Regions from separate parts of the Homo sapiens genome. Here regions 2, 3, 4, 5 and 6 are each linked to region 1. The links are contacts of gene promoters, found by promoter capture Hi-C in blood cells and fetal thymus (Javierre and others, 2016). All regions are on one chromosome and are shown on one strand. The core of a region is centred on a gene start or on the middle of the fragment in contact, and the rest is flanking DNA. Distances in the headings are between cores, read along the strand shown. Region 1 holds the start of MRPL14 (mitochondrial ribosomal protein L14). Region 2 overlaps RSPH9 (radial spoke head component 9). Region 3 has its middle 19 kb from the start of VEGFA. Region 4 overlaps LOC105375070 (a long non-coding RNA gene). Region 5 has its middle 14 kb from the start of MRPS18A. Region 6 has its middle 30 kb from the start of MRPS18A.

What was found. Contacts are between HindIII fragments. The CHiCAGO score rates a contact against its expected background, and 5 or more counts as called.
Region 2: a fragment that was not itself captured here is called in contact with the fragment with the promoter of MRPL14 in region 1 in 2 of 17 cell types (monocytes and non-activated CD4 T cells); the score reaches 5.4 in monocytes.
Region 3: a fragment that was not itself captured here is called in contact with the fragment with the promoter of MRPL14 in region 1 in 2 of 17 cell types (monocytes and neutrophils); the score reaches 6.1 in monocytes.
Region 4: a contact is called between a fragment that was not itself captured here and the fragment with the promoter of MRPL14 in region 1, in 1 of 17 cell types (monocytes). The highest score is 5.6, in monocytes.
Region 5: a fragment that was not itself captured here is called in contact with the fragment with the promoter of MRPL14 in region 1 in 4 of 17 cell types (neutrophils, monocytes, activated CD4 T cells and 1 more); the score reaches 5.5 in neutrophils.
Region 6: a fragment that was not itself captured here is called in contact with the fragment with the promoter of MRPL14 in region 1 in 6 of 17 cell types (naive CD8 T cells, erythroblasts, naive CD4 T cells and 3 more); the score reaches 8.1 in naive CD8 T cells.

The regions. Positions count from the first base shown.
Region 1 is chr6:44,124,748-44,129,253 of GRCh38, reverse strand. MRPL14 (mitochondrial ribosomal protein L14) reads left to right here and starts at 1,802. Exons shown (of 3, transcript NM_032111.4): 1 at 1,802-1,910. TMEM63B (transmembrane protein 63B) reads right to left here and starts at 1,700. Exons shown (of 24, transcript NM_018426.3): 1 at 1,576-1,700. RefSeq lists silencers at 1,020-1,179, 1,360-1,469, 1,510-1,909, 1,930-1,979, 2,010-2,069. The HindIII fragment of the contact is 11,989 bases long and covers 771-4,506 here.
Region 2 is chr6:43,651,760-43,656,218 of GRCh38, reverse strand. RSPH9 (radial spoke head component 9) reads right to left here. Exons shown (of 5, transcript NM_152732.5): 3 at 528-657. Among named protein-coding and RNA genes, the nearest start is that of RSPH9, 9.0 kb to the right of the region's middle. The HindIII fragment of the contact is 2,172 bases long and covers 2,109-4,280 here.
Region 3 is chr6:43,749,190-43,753,594 of GRCh38, reverse strand. No RefSeq gene overlaps it. Among named protein-coding and RNA genes, the nearest start is that of VEGFA, 19 kb to the left of the region's middle. The HindIII fragment of the contact is 5,224 bases long and covers 1-4,405 here.
Region 4 is chr6:43,813,837-43,818,631 of GRCh38, reverse strand. All of the region lies in intron 1 of LOC105375070 (a long non-coding RNA gene), which reads right to left. Among named protein-coding and RNA genes, the nearest start is that of LINC02537, 36 kb to the left of the region's middle. RefSeq lists enhancers at 1,299-1,358, 1,479-1,528. The HindIII fragment of the contact is 1,289 bases long and covers 1,099-2,387 here.
Region 5 is chr6:43,699,922-43,704,626 of GRCh38, reverse strand. No RefSeq gene overlaps it. Among named protein-coding and RNA genes, the nearest start is that of MRPS18A, 14 kb to the right of the region's middle. RefSeq lists a silencer at 1,536-1,635 and an enhancer at 738-1,723. The HindIII fragment of the contact is 6,909 bases long and covers 1-4,705 here.
Region 6 is chr6:43,715,616-43,720,153 of GRCh38, reverse strand. No RefSeq gene overlaps it. Among named protein-coding and RNA genes, the nearest start is that of MRPS18A, 30 kb to the right of the region's middle. The HindIII fragment of the contact is 3,480 bases long and covers 142-3,621 here.

The DNA.
Region 1 (4,506 bases), core at 553-3,052:
TGGGATTACAGGTGTGTGCCACCATGCCCGGCTAATTTTTGTATTTTTAGTAGCGATGGGGTTTCACCATGTTGGCCAGGCTGGTCTCGAACTCCTGACCTCAAGTGATCTGTCCGCCTCAGTCTCCCAAAGTGCTGGAATTATAGGCATAAACACTTTTTAATGAAAACTGAGGTTCAGACAGGTTAAGTAACTTGTCAAGGTCACACAGCTGAAGAATAGTAGAGCTAGAATTTGAACGCAGGTCTCTAAGACTCTGCTATACTTGGAGAGAACTTGAATGATGTCCAAGGGGGTTCTTAGTTACCCACTGCCTGCCTTCTGCCTTGCCATGTCCCCATCCACCCACAGGCCAAGACTGCACTGAGTGAGCCAACAGCAGGCCCCAGCATGTGCCACCTGGGGCATGCCAAGGCCTGGACCCTCTGGTGCCCTGGAGGACAATCACGCTGCCAGCACACCCCCACTTGAAGCCTGGCTGACACTCCCACTCCCCACCTCACCCTGGCCTGGGAGGCAGGATGGGCCCCTCTTCAGCAGGTGTTGGGCACAGCCTCATTGCTCCCCGGCTGCTGCAGACTGGTAATGGGTAGGCAAGCCCCAGCCCCCCAGGGCGGTGGAGTGCTCAGGCTTGCCCCGAGCGGCCAGACCTCTGCCCAGGGGACCCAGGCAGGGGGCAGCACAGCGCCCCAAGGGCAGCCAGCCCCTCTGACCTCTCCTCCCCACTTCCCAAGCGTCCTTTCCTTTTCTGGGGAACAAGGTGCCAAGCTTTGGGACTGTCCGCCTTAGGCGGTCAAGACAGCCAGGAGGGACAAAGCGGCGCCCCCTCCCCACAACAGGGCCTTTGCCCCACTCTCGGTTTCGCGTCTGAATCTTTTCCCCACCGCACCCTCCAACGCAGGCCCGGGCGGCTCATGAATGAACTGCACTGTGTGGGGCGCAAGGAGAGGACACGCTCCCGGGGCCGGCCGCCTCTCCAGCCCGCCGACCAGTCAGTCCCCAGAGCCGGGGGCAGCGGCCGGCCTCGTGCCAGCACCTGCGAACCCTGCCCTTGCCCGAGCCCGAGCCCTTACCCCGGACCGGCTTCGGGTGTACTCGCCCCCGGGAGCAGCAGAAAAAATAAAAGGCACAGAAGGCATCGGACTTGGCGACCCCGGGGTCCAAAACTCGGGGGCGGGGGCGGCTAGTTCCCCAAACGGCGGCGGACAGGCGGGGCGCAGCTGGCACCCCCGAGGGTCGCGCAGGGGACGCGCACCTGCACCGGGCAGGTGGGAGAAGAGTGGCACTCGGGGGCCGGGGGCGGGGGTCCCACCCTTTGGGATCTCCCCGGGGCTGGGGAGAGCCGGCGGCGCGTATCTGGACCTCCGGCAGGGGTTGGAGGACTCACATTTGGCTCGGGATGGTGCGGGGTTGGGGGCAGCGCGCGCCACCCCTGGGTCCCGCGGGCCCGGGCACCTCTGGGTCCCGCAGGAGGTTGAAGGGAGGGGACGCGCAGCTGAGTCCAGGTTTTTTCTTTGGGTGGTGGTGGGATCTTCGAAGAAAAGAGCGAGGGCTGGGTAGGGGTCGCGTACTCACCCCCAGGCGCAGACTCGGCTCCGGCTCGGAGCCCCGGGTTGGGGCGGGGCGGGGCTGGGGGAGGGGGAGGGGGAGTCGCTGGGCGGCTCGAGCTCCGGGCTCCTGCGGCGGCCGCGGCAGTGTATGGGGGAGGGGGAGCGGGGGGAGGGAGGGGGAGGGGGCGGAGCCCCGCAGGTCCCGCCCCGCACGCCGGCGCACGCAAGGTGCGCGCGCACTCTCAGATCGCGTCCGCCGGGCTGGGCCTGGCGCGCAGGCGCTAGGAAGAGGCCGCGTGGGGCGAAGGCGGCGCTTGGCTGGTGGGGCCCGCGGCGGGATTTTCCCGGGCGGCGAGAGCGGTATGGTGGGGGGCAGGGGTGGGCGTTAAGTCCTCATTCCCTCCTTCTCCTCTTCCTTTCTCTGCAGTAGGGGAGGCCCACTCCCCGGGGTGAGTGAGGAGAGGCCAGAGTGGGAGGCAGAGCGTCAGTGGGAGGGGTCCCGACGGGGAGGGGGGGGTCCCGACGGGGAGGGGGGTCCCGACGGGGAGGGGAGGCCCCTTACCCGGATCCTCCTCCCTTCCGCTCTCCGTGGGCTGCTTCTGCGACCCCCAAGTCCGTGGCCGGCGCTCACCTGCTTTCCCCGGGTTGCGGCGTCGACTTGGGGAGGGCGGGCTGCGTTCAGCCGTCGCTGGTCACTCCGGAGCGTCTCCTCCGGCTTCTCCGCTTTCCGCGCTCCCCTCCCCTTTCCCAACTTAGGTCTGGAGATGAGTTAGCCAGACGCCTCTGTGGTGTGAGGATTGAGTTTTTGCTTTCACTCTGTCAACGCTGATGAGTGCGCCCTCCCCCAGGCCAGGGGGTTCCCTGGTTTCTTATTTCACCAGAGACTGCATCTACCAGTGATTAAGACTGGAAAGATGAAGGGAGAGACTGAGACTCTTTCTATATATCACCCACACAAATAGATCATAAAGGCACAACGGGCACCAACCTGGTCATTTAATTTCTGGTTCCTGGAGGGGACAAAAAGGAAGTATTGCTTTCCACAGCCGACGATAAATGAACTTTGCCACCGTAAGAGACGGACGGGACTGAATTTATAAAGAGGTTAAAAGGGCATATGACAGACACCTCAGGCTACTTGGGAAACTCTGGGAGTTTGGGAGATAATTAACTCTCAGGGCTGGTGGTGGTGGGGAACTGCCACTGCTGAACAGAAGGACACTGCCCACCTGGGGGGTTTGGATCTTGTAGTTGGTCAGCGTCTCTGCTGTATGCTGGATTTTCAAGAGTTCATTAGTAGCTTGTGGAATGCAACTGTAAGGTTTGATTTATTGCAGTGTTTTTCAAACTGAATCCTATTGGTGAGTTGGAAATCAGTTTAGTAGATCACGGCCACTTGAAATAGAAAATATCAGAGGGTGTTGCACTTAGGGTATTGTTTCTTGACACTTCAGGTGTACACACACGTGTGAGTGTACTAGGAGGTGTTCTACAGTGTGTTTCTGTAGGTCGCAGTGAGAAAAATTTGAAAAGCGTTGTCTCCTGTGCCCTTCTATTTGCCCTCTTGCCTTTCTTTGCCTGAGTTTTCAGTCACTTAAAATTGTCTGAGGATGCAGTTAGCATGCCAGGAATATACAGTAAAGAACAAGGTGGATCTTCTTCACGGAGGTTACTGTGTGAGACGAAAGACAGTTCACTGTTCATCACTGGAAATACTGTACGTGCTACTGAAAAACAAGGATTTTATTGAGGTAAGAAGTTGGTTGGCTTAATTAGGAAGGGCAGTTTTTCAACTGTGAAAGAAAGGAAGATGGAGATGAAGCCCGTTTTTGGTAAAGTGCTTGGTGGGAAGGGTCTTTGTAGGTTTGGATTCTGGGAGTTGTGAAATTGGTGTAATCTGTTGCTTGTGTGGAACAATAAAATTCACTTTGAGGTCAAATAGTATTATAATGGATATCTGAAAAATGGAAGTGGAAGCCATAGTTGTCTGGTTTTTGGATTTCTGAGGATCACTAGAAGGCCTTTTTTTTTTTTTTTTTTTTTTTTTTTGAGACAGTCTCTCTTGCCCAGGCTGGGGAGATCTGGGTGCAGCAGTGCGATCTCAGCTCACTGCAGCTTCTCCTGGGATCTAGCAATTCTTATGCCTCAGCCTCCCGAGTAGCTGGGACTGCAGGCGCGAGCCACCACTCCTGGCTAATTTTTGTATTTTTAGTAGAGATAGGGTTTCACCATGTTGCCCAGGCTGGTCTCCAGCCCCTGACCTCAATCGATCTACGCAACTCAGCCTCTCAAAGTGCTGGGATTACAGGCGTGAGCCACCTTGTCCAGCCAGAAGGCATTTTTTATATGTTTTTATTTTTTACAAAAAGTATAGTTATGAATCTGAGCATGTGGATTCCTGAACTATTTCTGCCTGTGCCTAATTAGGGTCAGCACCTAATCCTCAAGGAGTGTGTGAGCCATCAAGTGACACTTTCCAGGGCAAGCATTTCAGAAAGCCTGACATGAGAATTAAGTGCCTTGTGGAATCCTTGAAGAACAGTGGCCAAAATATTTTATTATTGCTCCTGAATATTAAAGATAAAATGTTTCCCTTGGGGCGGGGTGGATAACAACAACAAAATTTCCCTGGAGTCCACTTTTCAGGTGGTTGGGCACTGAGCATGGTTATTTAGACTCTTCTTAGCTCCTAGTCTTCAGTGTTGCAAGAATTCTTTAAAACCTATTTTGCTCCATTTATGTCTTTGGGATTATCATGCCTGGGCACACCTAAGGTGGATTTTCCTACTGTCAGGTTACTTGGATAGTTCTTAGGGCTGTAGGGGGGGTCTCGAAAAGCAGGTTATGGTTTAGCCTTCTATTTTATAGGCTCATGGTTTGTCTGGGTTGTAGCTTACCCTGGTGTGATTTTACATGTGTATTTACAGTGACAACTAGTATGCAAGAGAAGACTGCA
Region 2 (4,459 bases), core at 1,945-4,444, 470 kb after region 1:
AGCTACTCGGGAGGCTGAGGCAGGAGAATCGCTTGAACCCAGGAGGCAGGGGTTGCAGTGAGCCAAGATTGTGCCACTGCACTCCAGCCTGGATGACAAGAGCAAAACACCATCAAGAAAGAAACAAAGGGAGGGAGGGAGGGAGGGAAGGAGGGAAAGAAGGGAAAGAAGGGAAAGAAGGGGAAGGAAGGAAGGAAGGAAGGAAGGAAGGAAGGAAGGAAGGAAGGAAGTCCAAGGAGGAAGGAGATAGGAAAAGGCAGGTAGCCCAGACCCATGTAAAGCCCTGGGACCAAGGGACTATATGCTCTCCCACTCCTCAAACTGAAGAGAGTCAGGGGCCAGGAGATGGGGAGCCCATACCGACCACTGGTGCCAGGTCACTGGGCACACCCTCCCAGGTGATAAGGTCACAGCTACTCCTTCTCTGATAAAGTGTGTAAGCCCCCCTGCTGGACTCCCAGACATATGTTCTACTGTGCTTGGGAAAAGATACCCCCAGCCCTTGAGAGGGGCCCCAGAGAACTCACCTTCAAAGGTCCGATTGACATGGGTGGGTCCAAAAGGGGTCTTGAAGAGGGCGCCTCGGGGGATGATGGCCACAGCCTTGTCAATCTGGTCAATGACAGACACCAAGCGGGTCTCTTCCTTGATCTGGACCTGAGGAGACAGGAGAGGAGCCCCCCTGCCAGGGCACTGTGCCCAGGCACCCCGGCGCAAGGTCCCTCTGCACGGCCATCTCACCCGCACCACTGCAGTGTAGTGGACCCCAGAGCCACACAGATCACGCTGGGCAGGCCCTCGCCTTCCTTCCTATCAAGATTTTCTTCCTTTCTTTTTATTTGTTTTTTAATTCGTAATACATAAGGGTGGTATGATATTCAAAACTACAGGAAAAAATCAGTCTTTCTCTCACCCCAGTCCGAGACCCTAGTTGCCCTCACTGGGGGCAGCCACCATTGAAGGTTTCTCATGTACTCTTCCAGAGGCATACCATCCTATCAGCATATTTAACTGTTGCTTATTTTGCCTTTTTAAAATATAAAAGTAATCATGCTCACTGTAGAATATTTGGATAATATAGAAAGACATACCAAAGATAACTAAAACCACTCATAATCCTACCTCCTAAAGATAATCACTGATAACATATTGGTATACTTTCTTCATGTTTTGTTGTTATTGTTGCTGTCATTTTGTTTTTGTTTTGAGACAGGGTCTCACTCTATCATCCAGGCTGGAGGGCAGTGGCACAATCATGGCTCACTGCAGCCTCAACTTCCCAGGCTCAGATGATCCTCCCACCTCAGCCTCCTGAGTAGCTGGAAGTACAAGCACATGTCACCACATCTAGCTAATTTTTGTCTTTTTTTATTATTATTTTTATTTATTTATTTCTGAGACAGAGTCCTGCTCTGTCGCCCAGGCTGGAGTACAGTGCAGGGATCTCAGCTCACTGCAATCCCTACCTCCTAGGTTCAAGAGATTCTCCTGCCTCAGCCTCCTGAGTAGCTGGGACTACAGGCGTGCATCACTGCACCCAGCTAATTTTTGTATTTTTAGTAGAGACAGAGTTTCACCATGTTGGCCAGGCTGGTCTTGAACTCCTGACCTCAGGTGATCCACCCACCTTGGCCTCCCAGACTGCTGGGATTATAGGCGTGAGCCACTGCGCCCAGTCAATTTTTGTATTTTTGGTAGAGATGGGGTTTCTCCATGTTGCCCAGGCTGATCTCCAACTCCCGGGCTCAAGCAGTCTCCCTGCCTCAGCCTTCAAAGTGCTAGGATTACAGGGTGAGCCACAGCACCCAGCCCTCTATGCATATATTTAAAGCAAAATTAGAGTCACAGTTTATATTGTTTCATATCCTTCTCTTCAGTTTAACATTATTTTGCAAGCATTTCCCCATATCATACCCTTTTTACACAGATGAAATTTAGTTACAATTACTATCTAGGGCAACTCTGAACAAAAGGATTTCATAGAGATTTTGTGGAAGAGCTCGACAGAGAATGCGTGTCAACAGAGGCCCCTAGAGAGTCACGGAGCCACCTATTTGCCATGGGCAGCCTACCTGAATGGTTTACAAAAGAAAGGTAGAAACTAAGCTTTAATAAGTGCTGAGGCCAGTGTCTTTAAATATGTCACCTCATTTAATCCACACAAGCCTGCAAAGTAAATACAATTATCTCAATTTTACAGAAAAATAATAATAAAACTGAGGCTCACGGCTGGGCCCGGTGGCTCACGCCTGTAATCCTAGCACTTTGGGAGGCTGAGGTGGGCAGATCACCTGAGGTCGGGAGTTTGAGACCAACCTGACCAACATGGAGAAACCCTGTCTCTACCAAAAATACAAAATTAGCAGGGTGTGGTGGCGCATGCCTGTAATCCCAGTTACTCAGGAGGTTGAGGCAGGAGAATCACTTGAATCCGGGAGGCGGAGGTTGCAGTGAGCCGAGACCACGCCATTGCACTCTGGCCTGGGCAACAAAAGCAAAACTCCGTCTCAAAAAAAACAGGCTCAGGAAGATTAAGTCAATCAGGTAGGAGTGGGTGAGGATGCAGCTGAGGGCTCACAGACCTAGACTCAGACTTTCGGCATCACCCAGGTTCAAGTGCAACAGCTGTGCTTTGAATTCTGGGATTGTATTGTTTCAAAACATAGGCTCCTTACTTGTTAACTTAGCAAGTCTATTTCCAGGAATTGACTTTCCCAGGAATTACACACAATGGAAGTGATGTCTATATGGTCTTTTTTTTTTTTTTTTTTTGAGACGGAGTCTTGCTCTGTCACCCAGGCTGGAGTGCAATGACGCGATCTTGGCTCACTGCAACCTCCGCCTCCCGGATTCAAGCCATTCTCCTGCCTCAGCCTCCCGAGTAGCTGGGATTACAGGCGCCACTGTGCCTGGCTAATTTTTTGTATTTTTAGTAGAGACGGAGTTTCACTATGTTGGCCATGCTGGTCTCAAACTCCTGACCTCGTGATCTGCCCGCCTTGGGCTCCCAAAGTTCTGGGATTACAGGCGTGAGCCACCATGCCCAGCTATATGGTCATTTATTATGGTACTGTTTGTTAGAACTAAAACTTGGAAATCAGCTGGATGAAATGGCTCATGCCTATAAATCCCAGCACTTTGGGAGGCTGAGGTGGGAGGATTGCTTGAAACTAGGAGTTAAGACCAGCCTGGGCAACATAGCAAGACCCCATCTCTACAAAAAAATACAAAAATTAGCCAGGTATGGTGGTATGCACCTGTAGTCCCAGCTACTTGAGAGGCTGAGGCTGGAGGATCACTTGAGCCCAGGGAATGGAGGCTGCAGTGAGCCAAGATCGTGCCACTGCACCCCAACCTGGGTGACAGAGCAAGACTCTGTCTCAAAAACAAATAAAAATAAAATAAAACTTCGAAACCTACATTTTCATAAATAAGACACTGGGAAAATTATGGTACATTCCCACAATGGTGAAAAAAAAAAAAAAAAACCGGAAGTTGGGCATGGTGGCTCACGCCTGTAATCCCAGCACTTTGGGAGGCCGAGGCGGGCGGATCACCCGAGGTCAGGAGTTGGAGACCAGCCTGGCCAATATGGTGAAACCCCGTCTCTACTAAAAATATAAAAATTAGCCAGGCGTGGTGCCAGGTGCCTGTAATCCCAGCTACTTGGGAGACTGAGGCAGGAGAATCACTTGAACCCGGGAGGCAGAGGTTGCAGTGAACCAAGATCATACTACTGTACTCCAGCCTGGGTGTGACAGCGAGACTCCATCTCAAAAAAAAAAAAAAGAATGGGAAGGCTCTTTAAGACACTGATATAGAAAGATCTCCAAAATATATCATTAGGTGAAAAAAAGCAAGGTTCAGAATCATGTGTATAACATGCTGCCATTTTTTTTTCTTTTTTTTTTTTGAGACAGAGTCTCACTCTGTCGCCCAGGCTGGAGTGCAGTGGCCCGATCTCAGCTCACTGCAAGCTCTGCCTCCCGGGTTCATGCCATTCTCCTGCCTCAGCCTCCCGAGTAGCTGGGACTACAGGTGCCCACCACCACACCCGGCTAATTTTTTGTATTTTTAGTAGATACAGGGTTTCACCGTGTTAGCCAGGATGGTCTCAATCTCCTGACGTCGTGATCCACCCGCCTCAGCCTCCCAAAGTGCTGGGATTACAGGCATGAGCCACCGTGCCTGGCCAATGCCCAGGGGATTTTTTAGAAGGCAGATACCTGATGCTGGGGCCCAAGATCCTACATTTCTAACTCTTAGGACATGGTGAAGCTTCTGATCCAGACTCTACTTGGAGCAGAAAAATTTAGACACACAAGTACACATATGTACACACACATGCACATGCAAAATAGTTAACGTCAGACTGTGTGCGGTGGCTCACGCCTGTAATCCCAATACTTTGGGAGACTGAGGCGGTCGGATCACCTGAGGTCAGGAGTTCGAGACCAGC
Region 3 (4,405 bases), core at 1,271-3,770, 380 kb after region 1:
AACAGAATAAGAGACAGGTCTTAAAAAATCAAATGTGATAGCAGAAATAAAAAATTTAGTGGAAATTTGGAAGATAAAGCTGAGGAAATGTCCACAAAGTAGAGAGAAAATAACAAAAGGATGGAAAGTTACAAGTAACTAAGCAATAAAACTACAGGACCACTCCAGCAGAGACAACAACATCTAAATAACAGGAGAAACAGAGAAACTAAGGGAAAGACATCCTTAGTGACATAATCTAAGAAAATTTCCCATAACTGAGGAATCCTTGAGAGCCCAGTGCAACAGATAATATTTTTAAGTATTATTTTTAAATTTCAAGTTCCAATGGTTCATTGCTCATATTTAGGAATATAATTGATTTTTGTATACCACTTTTGTGTCTCACTACCATACTAAATTCATTTATTAGTTCTAGTAGCTTCCTTGTAGATTCCATCAGACCTTCTATAGGGTTGATCATGTCATCTGCAAATAATGAAAATTTTACTTCTTCGTGTCCTATCTGAATGCCTTGTATTTTTCTTGCCTTATTACATTACAGTGGTTAGAGCCTCTGGTACAATGTTGAATAAAAGCAATAAGAGTGGACATCCTTGTTCTATTCTTTTTTTTTTTTTTTTAGGAAGGGAGCCAAAGGCCAAAAGCCTACAGCACCCAGTATTCCAAGGTGGTCTCCCATCCAAGCACTAACTAGGCCCACCCTGCTTAGCTTTACAAGATCAGATCAGATGAGATCAAGCACATTCAGGAGAAAATATTCTATCTTTTCACCATTATAGTTTTTTTTTTTTTTGGTAGAGGCTTATTATCAGGTTGTGGAAGTTCCTTTATATTCTTAGTTTGCTTAAGTTTTAAAAATCAGAAATGCATGTTGTGTTTTGTCAAATGTATTTTCTACATCTATTGAGATGATTGTATGGGTTTTTCTTTTTAATTTGTTAATATAATGAATTACATTGAATTGTTGAATGCTAAACTAACCTTGAATTCCTAGGATAAGCTCTACTTGGTCATGATGTTATTAGTGTACATGTATATACACTAGTACATATATATATACTAATACACATATAGATGATACAGCATACTACATACCTAGGCTATGTAGTATAGCCTATTACTTCTAAGCTACAAACCTGTATAGCATGTTACTCTACTAAATACTGTAAGCAATAGTAACACAATGGTAAGTATTCATGTATCTAAACATTGAAAAGTTGCAGTAAAAATACAGTATTATAATCTTATAGAATCATCATCATACATAAGGTCCATCATTGACCAAAAAATCATTATGCAGTGCATGAATATGTATATATAGTATGTGTATAGGTGATAGAGTTCAATTATATTTACATGAATTTGGTGTAGAAATTTTTCATCTATACTCATGAGAGATATTGGCCAGTAGTTTTCTGTTCTTGTAGTATCTTTGTTTGGTTTTAGCCTTATCTGATGAGTTGGGAGGTATTTCTGCCTCCTGAATATTCTAGAAAAGTTTGTATAGAATTATTATTATTTCTTCCTTAAATGTTTGGTAGTATACATCAGTAAAGCCATCTGGGCCTGGATTTTCTTTGTGGAGAGGCTTTCAACTGCAAATTCAGTCTTTAAAAAATTACATATAAGTCCATTCAAGTTATCTGTTTCTTCTAGATAACCTGAATGGAGTGGAGTGGCACAATCTCAGCTCACTGCAACCTCCACCTCCCAGGTTCAAGCGATTCTCATGCCTCAGCCTCTCAAGTAGCTGGCATTACAGGCGTGCGCCACCACACCTGGCTAATTTTTGTATTTCTGTATTTTTAGTAGAGATGGGGTTTCACTATGGTGGCCAGGCTGGTCTCCAACTCCTGACCTCAGGTGATCCGCCCACCTTGGCCTCCCAAAGTGCTGGGATTACAGGCATGAGCCATCACGCCCTGCCTCTGTTTCTTCTTGAGTAAGCTACCATAGTATGTGTCTTTGACAGAATTAGTTCATTTCATCTAAGTTATGGAATTTATTGGAGTAAAATTTTTCATAATATTACCTTCTTATCTTTTTACTATCTATACAGTCTGTAGTCAATCACAGCTTTCATTCCTGATACTGGTAATTTGTGTCTTCTCTTTTTTTCCCGATCAATCTGGCTAGAGGTTTATCAATATTATTGATTTTCTTGAAATAACAGCTTTTGGTTTTATTGATTGTCTCAATGTTCTTCTATTTTCAACTTCATTATTCTCTGATATTTTTCTTTTTTTAGACAGAGTCTCGCTCTATCACCCAGGCTAGAGCGCAGTGGTGCAATCTCGGCTCACCACAACCTCCACCTCCCAGGTTCAAGCAATTCTCATGCCTCAGCCTCCCGAGTAGGTGGGATTACAGGCACTTGCCACCACGCTGAGTTAATTTTTGTATTTTTTAGTAGAGTTAGGGTTTTGCCATGTTGGCCAGGCTGATCTCGAATTCCTGACCTCAAGTGATCCACCTGCCTCGGCCTCCCCAAGTGCTGGGATTACAGGCGTGAGCCGCCGCACCTAGCTACATTTTTCTCTGATCTTTATTATCTAATGTCTTCTCCTTACTTTGTGTTTAACTTGCTCTAGTCAAAGGTTTTTAAATTCATTAAAAATGTTAAACTATAAAACAAAAAGTACAGAAATAATTTTTCATCTGATTTGTGCTCTAAAATAAACTTTTCATTTCAAAATTTCTCAGTCTGAAAACACATCCAATCATTTATTCATCAAATATTTATCGAGCACCTACTATGTGCTAGGCACTATTCTAGGCACCAGAGATAGTGAATAAAACAAAGGTCATGCCCTCACTGACCTTATATTCTAATTGGAGATGCACAACAAACAGATAAATATATCATAAGTTCAAATTAATTATGTAGGCCAGGCGTGGTGGCTCATCCCTGTAATTCCAACATTTTGGGAGGCCGAGGCAGGTGGATCACTTGAGGCCAGGAATTCAAGACCAGCCTGGCCAACATGGTGAAACCCCGTCTCTACTAAAAGTACAAAAATTAGCCAGGCGTGGTGGTGCACGCCTATAGTCCCAGCTACTGGGGAGGCTGAGGCAAGAGGATTGCTTGAACCTGGGAGACGGAGATTGCAGTGAGCCAAGATCATGCTACTGCACTCCAGCCTGGGTGACAGAGCAAGACTCCATCTCAATAAAGAAATAACCACTCACATACACACACACACAAATGGACTATGTAATTTGTTGTTGTTGTTTGTTGATTGGTTTGAGACGGAGTCTCACTCTGTCACCCAGGCTGGAGTGCAGTGGCGTGATCTTGGCTTACTGTAACCTCTGCCTCCCGGGTTCAAGTGATTCTCCTGTCTCAGCCTCCAGAGGAGCTGGGACTACAGGCACACGCCACCACGCCTGGCTAATTTTTGTATTTTTAGTAGAGATGGTATTTCACCATGTTGGCCAGGCTGGTCTTGAACTCCTGACCTCAAGTGATCTGCCCTCCTGAGCCTCCCAAAGTGCTGGGATTACAGGCATGAGCCACCATGCCCGGCACTGACTATGTAATTTAATAAATAAATTTATTTTTTAAAAATAGTGTTGATAAATGCTATGCAGACAAATAAAGCAAGGTGAGGGGATAGAGACTGAGCAGGTTTTGGGGGAAGGGGCTGTTTCTATTTTAGATGAGGTCAACAAAGGGCTCATTCTGAGTAGAGATCTGAAGGAAATGAGGGGGAACGCCTGGAAATATCTAGGGAAAGGGCATTCCAGGCTGAGACAGAAGCAAGGGCAAATTCCCTGAAACCAGAACATGCTTGTCTTTTTGAGGAAAAGTAAGAATGTCTAAACGGCAAAGGAGAGAGGTAGCTAGGGGCCAAAACATGTAAAGCCTTATAGGCCACTGTAAAAACTTCATATTTAATTCTAAGTGTGGTAGGGAGAATTCTAAGATGACCCACCAAAATCCCCTGCTCCTTGGTTTGCCCCTATACATAATCCCAGGACTGTGAATATGATAGGTTTCACCCCCGCAGTTAGGTTGTTCCATGGCATAGGTGACTCTAAAAATGAGATTATCCATGGCCAGGCCTGGTGGCTCATGCCTGAATCACATGAGCTCAGGAGTTCAAGACCAGCCTGGGCAACATAGTGGGACCCCCTCTCTACAAAAATTTTGAAAATTAGCCAGGTGTGGTGGTGCACATCTGTGGTCCTAGCTGCTCAGGAGGATGAGGTAAGAGGATCACTTGAGCCCAGGAGTTCAAGGCTGCAGCAAGCCATGATCACACCACTGCACTCTATCCTGGGCAACAGAGTGAAACCTTGTCTCAACGACAACAAAAACAAAAAGAACTCAGTTCAGCTGACATTTTGATTTCAGCCTTGTGACACCCTGAGCGAGAAGCCCACTCACACTGTCCCTGAC
Region 4 (4,795 bases), core at 494-2,993, 310 kb after region 1:
AAATGGCCACATAGCCATTGGCAGTCTCTGGCTCTCTTGCTGACAAACAGAACAGTCTTATTAGCAGTTTGTGCCGGAGAGGGTACAAAAGGAACATGTCTAGATCCAGCCCTTCTCTGCACCCCCATCTCTGCTCATTTCAAGGACCCAGGTGAACACCTCAAAGAAACAGAGATATCTGCTTGTCAATTCCAGTCACCTTGCAAACATGGAGAGGGGCTTTCTTAGTGGGCGTTGACATGTTCTACTTTAAGGCACCCCTCAGATTTCCACAGGGCCATGCCCCGTAAGGGCATTTCTTCAATAAGCCAGGTTTCTATTGCCCTTCTGCCTAACCATCTGGCCAGGCCATTGGCCAATGCCCATGAGTCGGTAAAAACCCAACCACAGGGGCTTCTGGCATCGTTCAATTCTTCCATCGCTGTTAGGAAAGCAGCATGTGATTCAGCCCACCAAGCTGATTAGTTTTTACCTTCTTGGATCATAGTAGCAGCCTTCCAAACAGGAGGTTGTCCATTTACCTTGGAACTGCCATCCACAAACCAAGCAGCTATTTGCTGGTCAGTTGAGAGCACTGTAGGATCCACAGCTCCTCACACAGTTCCACAGTCAGTCCTAGGGTGTAATGAGGCTCCCTGCTCATATCTCCTCCTTACATTCCTCAGGTTGCATGATTCTGTATAAGCCATTTCCATTTTATTATGGAACCCTCCTGGGCACTGCTGTCCTCATTAGAGTGTTTTTCTGACATCACCCGGGACAGCATGGATGTTTCAGGTGTCAAGATCATTTTATGTCCTTCAGACATGGGGTACCAAGGATACAATGAACAGATGCGTAAGACAAGGTATGCAGGAAGGACGTGGAGCTTCCATGCCCTCCCTGGGCGCACCGCCCTCCAGGAACGGCCATGTTTCCAGCTATCCAGAAGCTTCCCACTTTTCTAATGCTCACTAACTACTCCTTCCATAATCCACAAGGATCCTTGCCCAGGACTCTTTTTAAAACTCAGAACCACGTTTTTCCCTTCTCAAGGCCCCCGTGCTCTTGGCTTTCTCAGGTGGGACAAAGTGGCCCCAGCAGTCTGGTTCACAAGCTTCCTTTGTGCCCCAAGTGTTGTTTTATGGGGAGAGGCCCTTTGAACACCCCAGCAGCAGTGGAGAGGGGAGGGCCCATCCCACCTCCAGGGCTCCCTGGGCCTCTGTGTCATCTACTGCTGCCCTCTGGGTTTGCAGGCTGCTCTCCTGCCAGGGGGCAGCAAGGAGCCCTACTCTTCGTACACTCCCCACCCGTGCTGTGTCATCAGGCCCAACTGCAGCCTCTGGATCCCTTGATCTTGACTGGCTATGATCACAGCTAAACAAGCCTGGGTTGCCCCTAGCATCTTTCACAAACCTCTACCTATTTTTATCTTCCAGAAACTCTCTTTACAGGCCCGTAGTCCTGTCTCACATCTGTCCTTCCCTTCTCTGTTCAAGCCTCCTTAACACAGCAATTTGGCAAAGAGCTCTCCTGCCACACACTGATTTCTGTGGTCACCTCCCTTCTTCCTTCATTACTGGGACGCAGACTACCCTGTGTGGGATTGCACAGTGTCATGTACATTTTTGAGAGCTTCCCAGCCCTCTTGAGACAGCTATCCCACCCAGAGATTCGTGGCATGGAACCCTGCCTGTCTTTTTGCTGAAATATTGGCAGTCTGACTTTGGAAAGTCTGTTCCAGGCCCAAGTCTGTTCCAGGCCCTCCACAGCTCTCATCTGGATGGCTGCAAGAACCTCCTTGCTGGTCTCCCTGCTGCACTCTGAGCTTCTCACGGCCTCTCCCACCCACCCAATCTCTGTACCAGCATTGAGTAATATTTCTAAATTGCACAGCCAGCCCTGCCCCTGCACTGGCAGAAGCCAGGATAAATTGGTTAGACAAGGTTGACAGCATGACTTTCAAAGCCCACCGTGGCCTGGTTTCTTCCCCTCTCCACCTGCACCTCCTCTCTCTCTCTCTCTGTCTCTCTCTCTCCCCATCACTTAACTAAATATCTAATTGTGCTCACTTTCCTGGACATACTAGGTTATTTCACATGTCTATTTCTGCTTCTGCTCCTGCTGTCAATCTACCTAGGATGACGTTGCAACTGTTCTTGATACAGCTGCTCTAAAACTCACTCAGGAGCCACCTTTTCCAGGAACCCTTCCCTGAGCCCCCAAGTTAGGCCAACTCTGCTCCTCTGGTTTCTCTTTGCATCCTGAGCCTATCCTAGCTCTTACCACACAAGGCAGGCACTGCTCATCCTACCTAACAGTGATTCTGCTCCACCCTTTCTTCCTTGCCACCAGAACCTCACCTTTTCGGGTGACAATGTATCTAGGCCCAGAAGATGAGTCAAGCTTCATCTAAGACATCACCAGCATCCTGTTCCTATTTGCTAGTCCCTCAGTTTCCCAGCCTCCCTGAAGCATTTCCTCTCAGTTGTGCCCAATGATACATGAGAGGTCATTTTCAGAGGGGGTATCTGGGAAACACGTTTCTTCCCTGATAAAAATAGAGCCCCTTTCTCTCCTTGGCTTTTTTCTTTTCTGCCTTGAATATAATTATAGGAGTCACCATAGCAGCCATCTTGTGACCAGGAGGCAACAAGCATGGAGACAAAAATTAACACGTTGAAGATGGCAGAGCAGAAGGATAGAAAAAGGCTGAGTTTTGATAGCATCATTGATGTCATCCTTTCACCAAAGCTGGAACCCTCTGCCTCCAGACTTCCAGTGATGTGATATTGATCAATGTCTTTATTGCTCAAGCCACTGTCTGTTGGGTATTCTGTTGCTTGATACCAAATATATTCCCAACTGATGTGGGCTGTCATAAAAACAATCTTGGTATCTGCCTCCATGACTAGACTCCTTGAGGGCAGGAATGGTGTCTTATTTTTCTTAGTATTCCCAGAGCCTAACACAATGACTCAATAAATTATGGTTCGAAGGAATTAAACTGATGACTTCCCTTCCCTCTCGATTACAAATAACAGAACAGGTCCACTTTAAATTTTTTTTAATTTTTAAATTTTTTTTTTTTAGAGACAGGGTTGCACTATGTTGCCCAGGCTGGACTTGAACTCCTGGGTTTAAGTGGTTCTCTCACCTCAGCCTCCTGAGTAGCTGGGACTACAGGTGCACTCCATCAAGACCAGCTGGTTGCCTTTAGCCCAGGTTTGCCCTGTCACTGAAGCTTTTCCAACCAATCCCTCCTTCTTCCATTCACTTCCCCCACCCTCTGAAAGATTAAATGGTCCCCAGAGCCAGTTGAGAACAGTCCAGATGCTCTGCCCTAGCAAGTCCTCACAGGTGAGGTCCCCACCCGCTGTGTTGCCTTGGGCCAAGTGGTCATCGAGAAGGCGCCATCCACCTCCTCCTGCTGCCTCCATGGCTGGAGGACAGGACACACCCTGTTAGCCCTGATATCTGGATCCAGATTTCTGCTGTTCCAGAGAACCTCACCTTCACTCTCTTTAGGAATAGAACTTCCTTGAAGCCAAAAAGTTGGCTTTCAGAACAGGCCCCAGGCCTAGGCAAGTACAGACACCTGATTAACAAAGAGGCCATCTGGGTCAGCCACTCCCACTCCAACTGCCATACCTACCTGCCTTTCCTGAGCTTGGCTTGGGAAAATCTTAAGTTCCAGAAGGAACCACCACCCTGTGCCCTAGGTCTGCTCATTAAATATAGATCTAATTATTTATGGTACAAAATATACTTTTAAAACCTAATCAGTGTTGAGCACTTAAAGACTGATAGCATTTCGTATCGATTACTGGGGGCTCCAAATATGTGTACTAAATACTGAATGCAGAACTCAGCTTCTTATAAAACTTCACAGAAAGTATCACCCAAGGACAGCTCTCTGACTCGCCCACATTGACATTTGGTAACTGGCCTCGCCTAGGGACTCACCCATCACCCCTCAGTCCCCCTGTGAAGCCTTCAGACAGAGGCCCACCTCATGGAGGGCTCCAGCCGGGTGCTCTCCAATGTGCCTGCCCATTTCTGCTCCCACCAGCCAAATCAAGCATGTCCCAAAAGCCATTATTTCTGTCCCCAAACCTGTTTGCCAGTTGTGCTTGTTATTGTAAGTATGCAGTTTAATAAAATATGACACAAAACAATGAAATATGATGTGAAAAGAAAGAGTTTTCTTCTTTTCTTAAAAATCCAGGTTGAACACTTTGGAAGAGTTTGGTAACAGGAAACAGCTGAAAAAATTGCCATTGAGCAAGGCATAGAAGAGACAGACTATAAAGAATGGTGCTGGCGGGCAGGGTGGAGGGCCTATTCTGGAAGGAATCTACCCTTGATTGGTTCTTAAGAGCCAGGAAGTTCTCACTCCACTTTAAATAAACCAAAACCAGAACCCAAAGAAGTGAATATAATGGGTTAGTTTATGCCAGAAGACCATTCATGGCACAGGAGGGCCTGTGCCCAGGGGAAGGCTTCATTCATACATCAAAATGCTGGCACATGTTAGCACATCCATAGGGCTCCAATTAAAATGAAATCTTTACATTGTACAGGTTTTCTTTCTTTATGATCATTTGTCAAACTAACCAACTACAAGCCTTGATGGTATTGGATAGGAGGGCCTCACCGCACCAATTGTAAGTCCTGCAGCAAAGGCTTTATCACTGAGCCCCTGTTTCCTTGTGGATTTTCATCTGCCCCACCTCAGAGGACCGTGAAGATTACCGGGCGAGCGAAGCAGCCAGTAAAGTGCCTGTCGTTAGCAAGTATCAATTCTCCATTCCCA
Region 5 (4,705 bases), core at 1,651-4,150, 430 kb after region 1:
CCAGCTACTCAGGAGGCTGAAGCAGGAGAATCGCTTGAACCCGGGAGGCAGAGGTTGGAGTGAGCCGAGATCATGCCACTGCACTCCAGCCTGGGCAACAGAGTGAGACTCCATCTCAAAAAAAAAAAAAATTAAAATATGAAAATATACCACTACAAACAAAAATGCTTTTTAAAAATCAAGATGAGGCTTAATTCTGCCTGGAGATTTATTTGATGGTAGTCCTCACCCACTGGCCCTCTTCCGAGGGCCCCATCTCCACTCCTCTCTGGCCAGTTGTCTCAGAGATAGATGCCAGCTTCCTCAAATCTTATGCAAAATTATCACTGTCTTGACTTCATCTTCACATAGTCAAGCCATGCCTTTTTCGCACAAAGGGCCCATTGCTGTGATTTCCCCACAAAAGAATCATTTCCCCAAGAGGAACCATGCCATGTCCCTAGAAAGCAGAAAGAGTGACAGTATCCTCTGTATTAAACAGCCCTGAAGTGTTTCTGCCAGGTCTGTTTCCATGCTTGCCTCTTCCGGCCTGGATTGTGGGTCTTGAGAGCAAAAACCTGTTTTATGCATCTCTGGGTCCCCGGCTTCATAGGTGATTCCAAATGCACCACATCCCTTCTTCAATGCCTGGCACAGCATGGTTCACACAGAGGACCCCTAGTAAATGTTTACCAGGTTGAGTCGCTTTGGTGAGGTGTGTGAACATGGAGAGATAAGACAGAGGGTGGAAGTTGGGCCAGATCTGGAGCAGAGCCAGAGGGTAATTAATAAAAACAGCTCACATTTATTGAGCATTTTACTACTTGCCAGGTGCTCTTCTCAATGCCTTTCTGCATTAGCTCATATAATCTTCACAACAACCCTACCAAGCAAGTTCCATTATTATCCCCATTGTACAGATGAGGAAACTGAGGCACAGAGCGACTAAGAAACAGTGTGTTGTTCAAATACTGTCATGTTCTATGGGTGCCATGATGTATCTGTGGCTAGGAAGTAGTTTTCTAGAACGTGGCTTTAAATTAGACTCACTCGGGGATCTTCTAAAACTCCTGATGCTCAGGCCACAAACTACACCAATTAAATCAGCATCTCTGGAGGATGAAATTGTCAATGGTAGTTTTTAAAGCTCCCCGAAAGATTCCAAAGCGCAACTGAATTTGGGAACTAGGGATCTGGGCCAAATCCTTTAATCCTTTATAATTAACGCACATGGAGATGTCACGGCGCAGAGAGAAGTGATTGCACAGGGGCACACAGGAGGGCAGTGGCTGAACCTCTGTCCTCCAGTGCCCAAGGTAGGTCTTCTTCTGCACCCCCAGCCCCTTCCTCCATGTTGCTGTAGGCACTGAGCTGGCAGGCTGCTAGGCCCACATGGATCTTACAGGTCTTGGCTCAAGGCTGGCTTGGAGGAAGATCCCCAGGACAGGCTAACTGATCCCCCTCATCCCAACGTGCCCCCATTCAAGCAGCTCCACAGGCTGGATGCCTTAGGGCAGAGCCCAACCTGGAAATTCTCCAGGCTTGGACACCACCCTGGATTTAGACAGAGCTCAGGGAGACTCAGGATGGGTGGGGCTTGGGGCAAAACACCACGGGAGTTGTGCCACAGTCACAGGCAAAAGAGCCGGGGCAGGCCCAGAGGCTAATTTCCCTGACCCCGCCCTGTGGGGCCTGTGTACTCCCCTCCTCCTCTCCCCACCCTCTGATGACGCACTGACCCCGGCCCTCCCCCTCAGTTCCCTCACCCCTCATTGGGAGGTGACGGAAATTCATTTCTGGCGGCCTGAGGGCTGTCAGCAACTTGTTTTCATTCTAGGGTCTGGCTGGTCCAGATAGGTCCATCCGGGCCCTATGTCACACAGGGGACACACACACAAACACACACACACACACACACACACACAAACACACACATTCACACACCCCAAACAGAACCTCTGGAGGAAAAGAAGGGAGGCACTCCAGGGGTTCTGAGTCACGGGATTCAGGGCATTCATAGCCAAATGCCACTCTTGGGAAAGCGGTGGAGCAGTTCACAAGGAAAGTCAAAGAGGCTGGACAGGGAACCAGTTCTCCTGTAGTCTTCCTCCGCTCTCCTCTAGCCCAGTGGTTCTCAACCCTGGCTGCACATAGAACCATTTAAGGAGCCTTTAAAAAACGCTGCTGCCTGGGCTCCAGCCCTGAGAGAGTTCAATTCAACTGTTCTGTTTAACTCCGGGGAGAGGCCAGGCCATCATCTTTTAATTCCCTGGTTGATGCTGATGAGCAGCCAGGAATGAGAGCCCTTGCTGATGGAATCATCCAGGCAGGATGGATTCACTCCCAATCTCACTGGGCAGATGGTCAGGGGAAGAGTCTGCCCTTTCTGTTGGAGAGGGGAGGGAGGTGTTGCAGGCAATATACCCCAAGACCTCATCTTCATGTCCATCATCAACACAATTCAGTAAAATGGTGGTTAAAGAACAGGAGCAGGTGCTCATTCTGGCTCTCCCCTTTCGTCACCTCGGACAAATTACTTGGCTTGTCAGAGCCTCAATTTCTTCATTCATAAAATGGAGAGAATAGTTGCCACCTAGGAGGTACTTGTGACAATTAAATGATTAAGTCTACACAGTCCTGAGCACATAATAAGCAATCAATAAAAAATAGGCTTTAATAATAAAAAAATGAAAGCCGGTTTGTACACCTATGTTCATAGCAGCTTATTCACAACAGCTAAAAGGCAGAAGCAACCCAAGTGCACATAAGCAAAATGTGGTTCGTACATGCAATGGAATATAACCTTAAAAAGGAAGGGAATGGCCAGGCGCAGTGGCTCACACCTGTAATCCCAGCATTTTGGGAGGCCAAGGTGGGTGGATCACTTGAGCTCAGGAATTTGAGACCAGGCTGGGCAACATGGTGAAACCCCATCTCTACAAAAAAATACAAAAAGTAACGGACATGGTGGCACATGTCTGTAGTCCCAGCTACTTGGGGGGCTGAGGCAGGGGGATCACTTGAAACCGGGAGGTGGAGGCTACAGTGAGCAAGATCATGTCACTGCACTCCACCCAGCCTGGGGGACAAAGTGAGACCCTGCCTCAGAACAAAAAAAAAAAAAGGAAGGGAATTCTGACACTTGCTGCAATATGGATGAACCTGAGGACATCATGCTAAGTGAAATAAACCAGTCACAAAGAGACAAATACTGAGTGATTCCCCTTATATGAGGCACCTAGAGTCATCAAATCCAGAGACAAAGTGAAAGCGTGGTGCCAGGGAAAGGGGAAGAAGAGGGAATGGGGAATTTGTGTAAATTAATGCAGAGTTTCAGTTTTATAAGATGAACAGAATTCTGGAGATAGAAGGTGGGGATGGTTGCCTAACAATATGAATTTTTTTTGTTTTGTTTTGTTTTGTTTGTTTTTTTGAGATGAAGTCTCACTGTGTCACCGAGGCTGAAGTGCAGTGGCGCAATCTCGGCTCGCTGCAACCTCTGCCTCCCAGTTCAAGCAATTCTCCTGCCTCAGCCTCCTGAGTAGCTGGGATTACAGGCACCCGCCACCACGCCCGGCTAATTTTTTTTTTTTTTAGATGGATTCTTGCTCTGTTGCCAGGCTGGAGTGCAGTGGCACGATCTTGGCTAACTGCAACCTCTGCCTCCTGGGTTCAAGCAATTCTCCCGCCTCAGCCTCCTGAGTAGTTGGGATTACAGGCACGTGCCACCACGCCCAGCTAATTTTTGTATTTTTAGTAGAGACGCAGTTTCACCGTGTTGGCCAGGATGGTCTCGATCTCTTGACCTTGCGATCCTCCCGCCTCGGCCTCTCTAAGTGCTGGAATTAAAGGCATGAGCTACTGCACCCAGCCAATTTTTTGTATTTTTAGTGGAGACAGGATTTCACCATGTTGGTCAGGCTGGTCTGGAACTCCTGACCTCAGGTGATCCACCCACCTTGGCCTCCCAAAGTGCTGGGATTACAGGCGTGAGCCACGGCGCCCAGCCATATGAATGTATTTAATACTACTAGAGCTATACATTTAAAAATGGTTAAGATGGGCTGGGCGCGGTGGCTCATGCCTGTAATCCTAGCACTTTGGGAGGCCAAGGCAGGCAGATCACCTGATGTTGGGAGTGCAAGGCCAGCCTGACCACCATAGAGAAACCCCATCTCTACTAAAAATACAAAAAATCAGCCAGGCGTGGTGGTGCATGCCTGTAATCCCAGCTACTTGGGAGGCTGAGTTAGGAGAATCGCTTGAACCCGGGAGACGGAGGTTGCAGTGAGCCAAGATTGTGCCATTGCACTCCAGCCTAGGCAACAAGAGTGAAACTCCATCTCAAAAAAAAAAAGTTAAGGTGGTAAAATTTATGCATATTTTGCCACAATTTTTAAGTTGGAGAAAGAAATAAAATAAATAAAAGACAAAATTAGCAATCCAGTTGCCCTGAGTGACTCTGTACTCCTAGAAAAGAGTGGACATATGGCCCTGGCTTCAGGCCTCCCCTTCTGAGATAGACACCAGGGGACAGATGCTCAATGAATGAACTCAGGATTTATGCTGATAATAAACAGGAAATAATAGATCGGTTTAAATATTTACATGGTGGTGTGCAGGCTTCAGGGCAAGGACATTACCAGGGAGGGGAGTGGGGGGTCAGACAGAAGACACAAAGAGAATGTAAATGTTAGTGGAACATGGGGCTGAAGCCACCCAGACG
Region 6 (4,538 bases), core at 632-3,131, 410 kb after region 1:
GCCCTGAAGAATCCCTCCCCTGCCCTCTGCGCTCTGCCTTTGATGATCCTCCAAGTGGTGAAGCGTGGAGGGCAGGGAATGTGGGATGGGTTAGGGTTAATTCCCACTAGGCTGTGAGCACCTGAGGGCAGGAATCAAGCTTTTTCCATCCCTGTCTTCCTACACCTGGCACAGTGCCTGGCACATAGTAGGCTCAGAAAATGTGGCTGGATAAAAAGCAAGGCCATCTAAGGTATGGCTAGGAGAGGAAGAAAGGGCTGCATGGGGTGAGGAGGATAATCAGAGATGCTTGCTGCCCACTGGGTGCTCTGAAAGGAGGGTAAGGATCTGCCTACTCCTATCACCACTTGTGCGGGGAGGGGCCCAGTCAGGAGATGCCGGAGGAGTCCGGGGTTGGTGGGAACTGGATCCCGGCAGACCCTCTCCCCGCCCCACTGCCAGGCAGGGATCTGTGGGTGGGTGAGCATGTTTGGCTATTGTCTCTGATCTGTGCTCCTGCCGCTCCTCTTGATGGAGCACAGTCAAAGAGGTGGCTGCCATGGGGCCATGTGAGAGCTGTCCGGACACCCAGGGGTCCTCCAGGCCATTGGGTTCCACCCTCCAACTCCCATCTCCCCACCATTCCCAGGGCCCAGGCTGGCCCCACAAACAGGAACAGCTCCAAGCTGGGGTAGTTCAGCTCCAGATATCAGGCCGGGAGGGCTTTCAGGGATCCCTGGATGAGTCCAATGCTGGCACAGTGGGCAGATGGGGAAACTGAGGCTGGAGAGAGCAAGAATTTGCCCTCAGCCACAGAGCAAGGTTAGAGGCACAAGGACCCAAGGCTCCTGGCTCCCATTTCTGTGCTGTTTGCCATACCAGGTAGGGACCCTGGAGAAGAAGGGGTGGGTAGGTTTGGAGTGGGAACTCAAAAAATCCACCCCACTCCACCCCAGAGTAAAGAGCATGAGCTCTGAAGCCAGAAGAGCTGGACACAAATTCTAGCTCCACCTTCCATCATTCTAACCTTCAGCAAATGTCTTTAGCTGTCTGCGCCTCCGTTTCCTTAACTGTGAAATACATATAACAGTAATTGTAATAACCTCATAGTGATATTGGGAGGACTAAATGAGTGGACACATATAAAGTGCCTGGACAGGGCTCCATATGCAGTAAATGCTCAGTGAACACTAGCTGTCACTATCTTATGGTCCTCAAAAGGTCTCCGTGTCCTGTCGAAGTCCAAAGTCTTTCCTAAGCCAGCAAAAGGCCTTCCCCCAGGAATGATTGTAGTGAGAGGTGGCTCAGCCACAGCCATTTCCCAGGATGTGGGTGGAAGCCGGGGCCCTTCCCCAGTGCTCTCACTGACTCCACCCTCCGATCTCCTGTCTCAGGGACTCAGTGGCCGCTTGGCCCCTCCAGTCGCCAGCCTGTCTGCCGGGCTCTCACGCCTGATGCAGAGATAAACACATCCCACGATAGTATTGTTTCCCATTTCCCACAGCTCTCAAGTGAGATCTTAGAGGGTGGGATTAGCTGGGCATTTGGGCAGTTTCAGGGCTTGGAAGGGTTGAGAGAGGCTGTTCCCAGAGCTGGCCGGTCCCCAGTCTCTAAAGGCAGTGGAGGTGGCCAGGTGTGCAGGGAAGAGGTGAGGGGAGCGGCTGGGGCCCGAGTCTCTGGAACATTCTGCCACCATCTCCCTACACCACACACAGGCATATTGAGTCTAACAAGGAGGAAGTGTGGAGAAATAGTACGCCCTTCTCCACAGTCAATTCTCTCCCTACACCCAGATCAGAGCCTCTGGCCCCTGTATTCCCTCAGGTGGCTGATCCAACTATCAAGATGTCACCAGGGAATGGGAAACCCAGAGCCCTTGGCAGAGAGAGCCTGCAGCGCCCAGAACCCAGGCCCGGGGCAAGCTGGGCAGGCCGGAGGGAGGGCAGTCTGGGGAGATGGAGTGTCCAGGCTCGTGCTTACTTCATCGTTATGATCGTTATGGGTAGAGTCAGCCAGGGGAGAGAGGCCTTCCTCTCCCAGCCAGGGCGCGCCCCTCCTTTCCACCCCACTCCCCAGTACTCCCAGTACAGCCACTCTCATGACCTCACTGCTACGGCCAGGCCAGGCCAGGCAGGTGGCCACGAGCCAGGGACCCGCCAAAATCCACATCCCCCAGAGACCATCGTGAGCCAGGCAGGGGCAGGATGTGTTGCTAGAATAGCCTCCACCCACCCAAACCAACGCCCGCGAAGACAGCCTGTCCTACCAAGTGTTTACTCCAGCCAGGCAGACTCACCTCCCTCTCAACAAGGCTGAACCTAGGGCAGTCCTTCACTATGGACCCTGTCTGTCAGCCAGACACATCCCACCTCCTCCTCCTCCCCTGCTAAATCCTGCTCGGCTGTCCTGTCCTTCCCTGAGTGACTTACCGGCCTCTCACCTCTCCACCATTTTGCAGTGATGGTAGTGGGGGTAGAGGGGTTGTGATGGAGATGGTGACATGGACACAGAAGTACTGGTCGTGACAGCCATTATAGCAGTTTCAGGGTGGTGATGGTAACAGTGAAGGGGATGATGGTGAAGGTGATGGCGGTGGTGATGGAGGTGGCAATGATGGAGACAGCGATGGTGGTGGAGGGAGTGATGTGATTGTCATAGTGGGAATGAGGTGAGTAGGGATGCCTCCCTCTGTAGGGTACAGGACCATGAAGAAACCGTTGGCCATGTCACTGAGGCCTACAGGAACATCGTGGTGAGTCGAGATTTTCTAGGGCATCCAGCACAGCAGGCCCCCAGAGCAGTAATGGCCTCTTCCCCTGTTTCCCAGTAGAGCATCATTATGTTCCCCTCTCAGACTCCTGGAGACCCCTCCAACTTGAAAGCAAGTGTCATCTGCCCTGGAATCTACTGGGGCCACCCTTGAAAGAAGGTGGACAGAGGCCAGGCTTGGGAGACAGAGGATCCTGGGTTGGAATCCTAACTAAATGGAGTTCACTTGGGTCTGAACCTCACTGTAAAATGGAAACCATAATTCTCTGTGGCAGGGTCATTGTGAGGATAGAGATAAATATCTTTAAAAGTGCCTGGCACAGAATAGTGGCAAGATAAATGGTCAATATTTTGTATCCTGTTTTCCAAGGCTTTCTTATGAAGCCTCCACCTACCCACTCCCCCCACCCCAACCCTCCTCCATATGCCTCCCTGTCTTCATTTTCTAGAGCTGCCGAAACAAATGACCACAAACTTGGTGGCTTAGAACAACAGAAATTTATTTTCTCACAGTTCTGGAGGCCAGAAGTCTGAAATTGAGATGCCAGCAGGGCCAAGTTCCTGTCCAGCTTCTGGTGGCTCAAAGCATTCCTTGGCTGTGGGCTCCAGTCTCTGACACCACCTTCACATGCGTCTTCACACGGCTGTCCCCACCACGTCTCTCAGTGTTTTTACTTGTTTCTTAGGAGGACGCTTTCACTGGATTTGGGGCCCACACTAATCCAGCGTGATCGCATCTCAATCCTCACCTTCATTACCTCTGCAAAGATCCTATCTCCAAATAAGGTCCCATGCTCAGGTTCCAGGTGGGCATAAACTTTGGGGGTCTCTATTCAATCCACTACATTCCCCAACCTCAGAGTGAGCCAAGCTTAATTCCCCAGACTCCCTATTACCTGGCACAGCCATGGTCCCTGCCCAAGCCTGCTTCCAGACCCCCACCCCTCTGCCCCTGCATGTCCCAGGTCCCGTGGCCCTGCGCCTGGGCTCCCCAGTGCCATGCGTGCATGCCTATGTGCATGTGCACAGATTCCCCCTTCACTTGGCGGTGAGAAAGGGGGATTCTAGGCTTCAGCAGGAGCCTACAGGGGCCTCTCTGCTCGGAAATGCTTCTTCCTCTCCCCCTGGCAGCTGTTTGGCTTGGCGGGGGCCCATCTGGCAGGCTCAGCAGCCAAGGAGCCCTAGGGGGCAGTGGGAGGGAATGGTGAGGGGCAGGCAGCTCCGTAGTCCTCAGGCCCAGGCCCTGGGAGCTGGGCCAATGGCGGGCCTCCCTGCTGGCTGGCTCCAGCCCCTTCGCTCTTGGTTCTCCTCCTCCCTGGTCTCCCGTCCTCCCCATCCTGTAAAGGGGAATTCTGGAGACCCTCCACCACCCTGCACTAGCCAAGGAGAAGACGTGCAGAAGAGGAGCAGCAACTGGCAAAGCAAGAAACACACCCAGGGAAAGGGCAGTCAGTGGCTCCTGAGGATCCGCTCATGGGGGCTCTGGATACTCTTTGAGGGCACCCTAGGACAACCTGGACTTCTCCCAACCTCTGATATTCTGTCCTCTGCTCCTTCCATGTTCCTGAAATTTCCTGTCCCTGGTGTCCCCTCCAGGGCACTTGCCTTCTTCCAGGGCCCCTCTGAACCCCCAAGCTGTTGCCTACTTTTCTGGGTCAGGCCTCTCTTCAGTAAGCAGGACAGAAAATGATGCCCTCAGCCCCTAGCAGGTCCTACAACCTCTTTCTACTGATGGGAAAATGTAAAACACATGCGCACACACGCACACACACACACACACACACACAGGG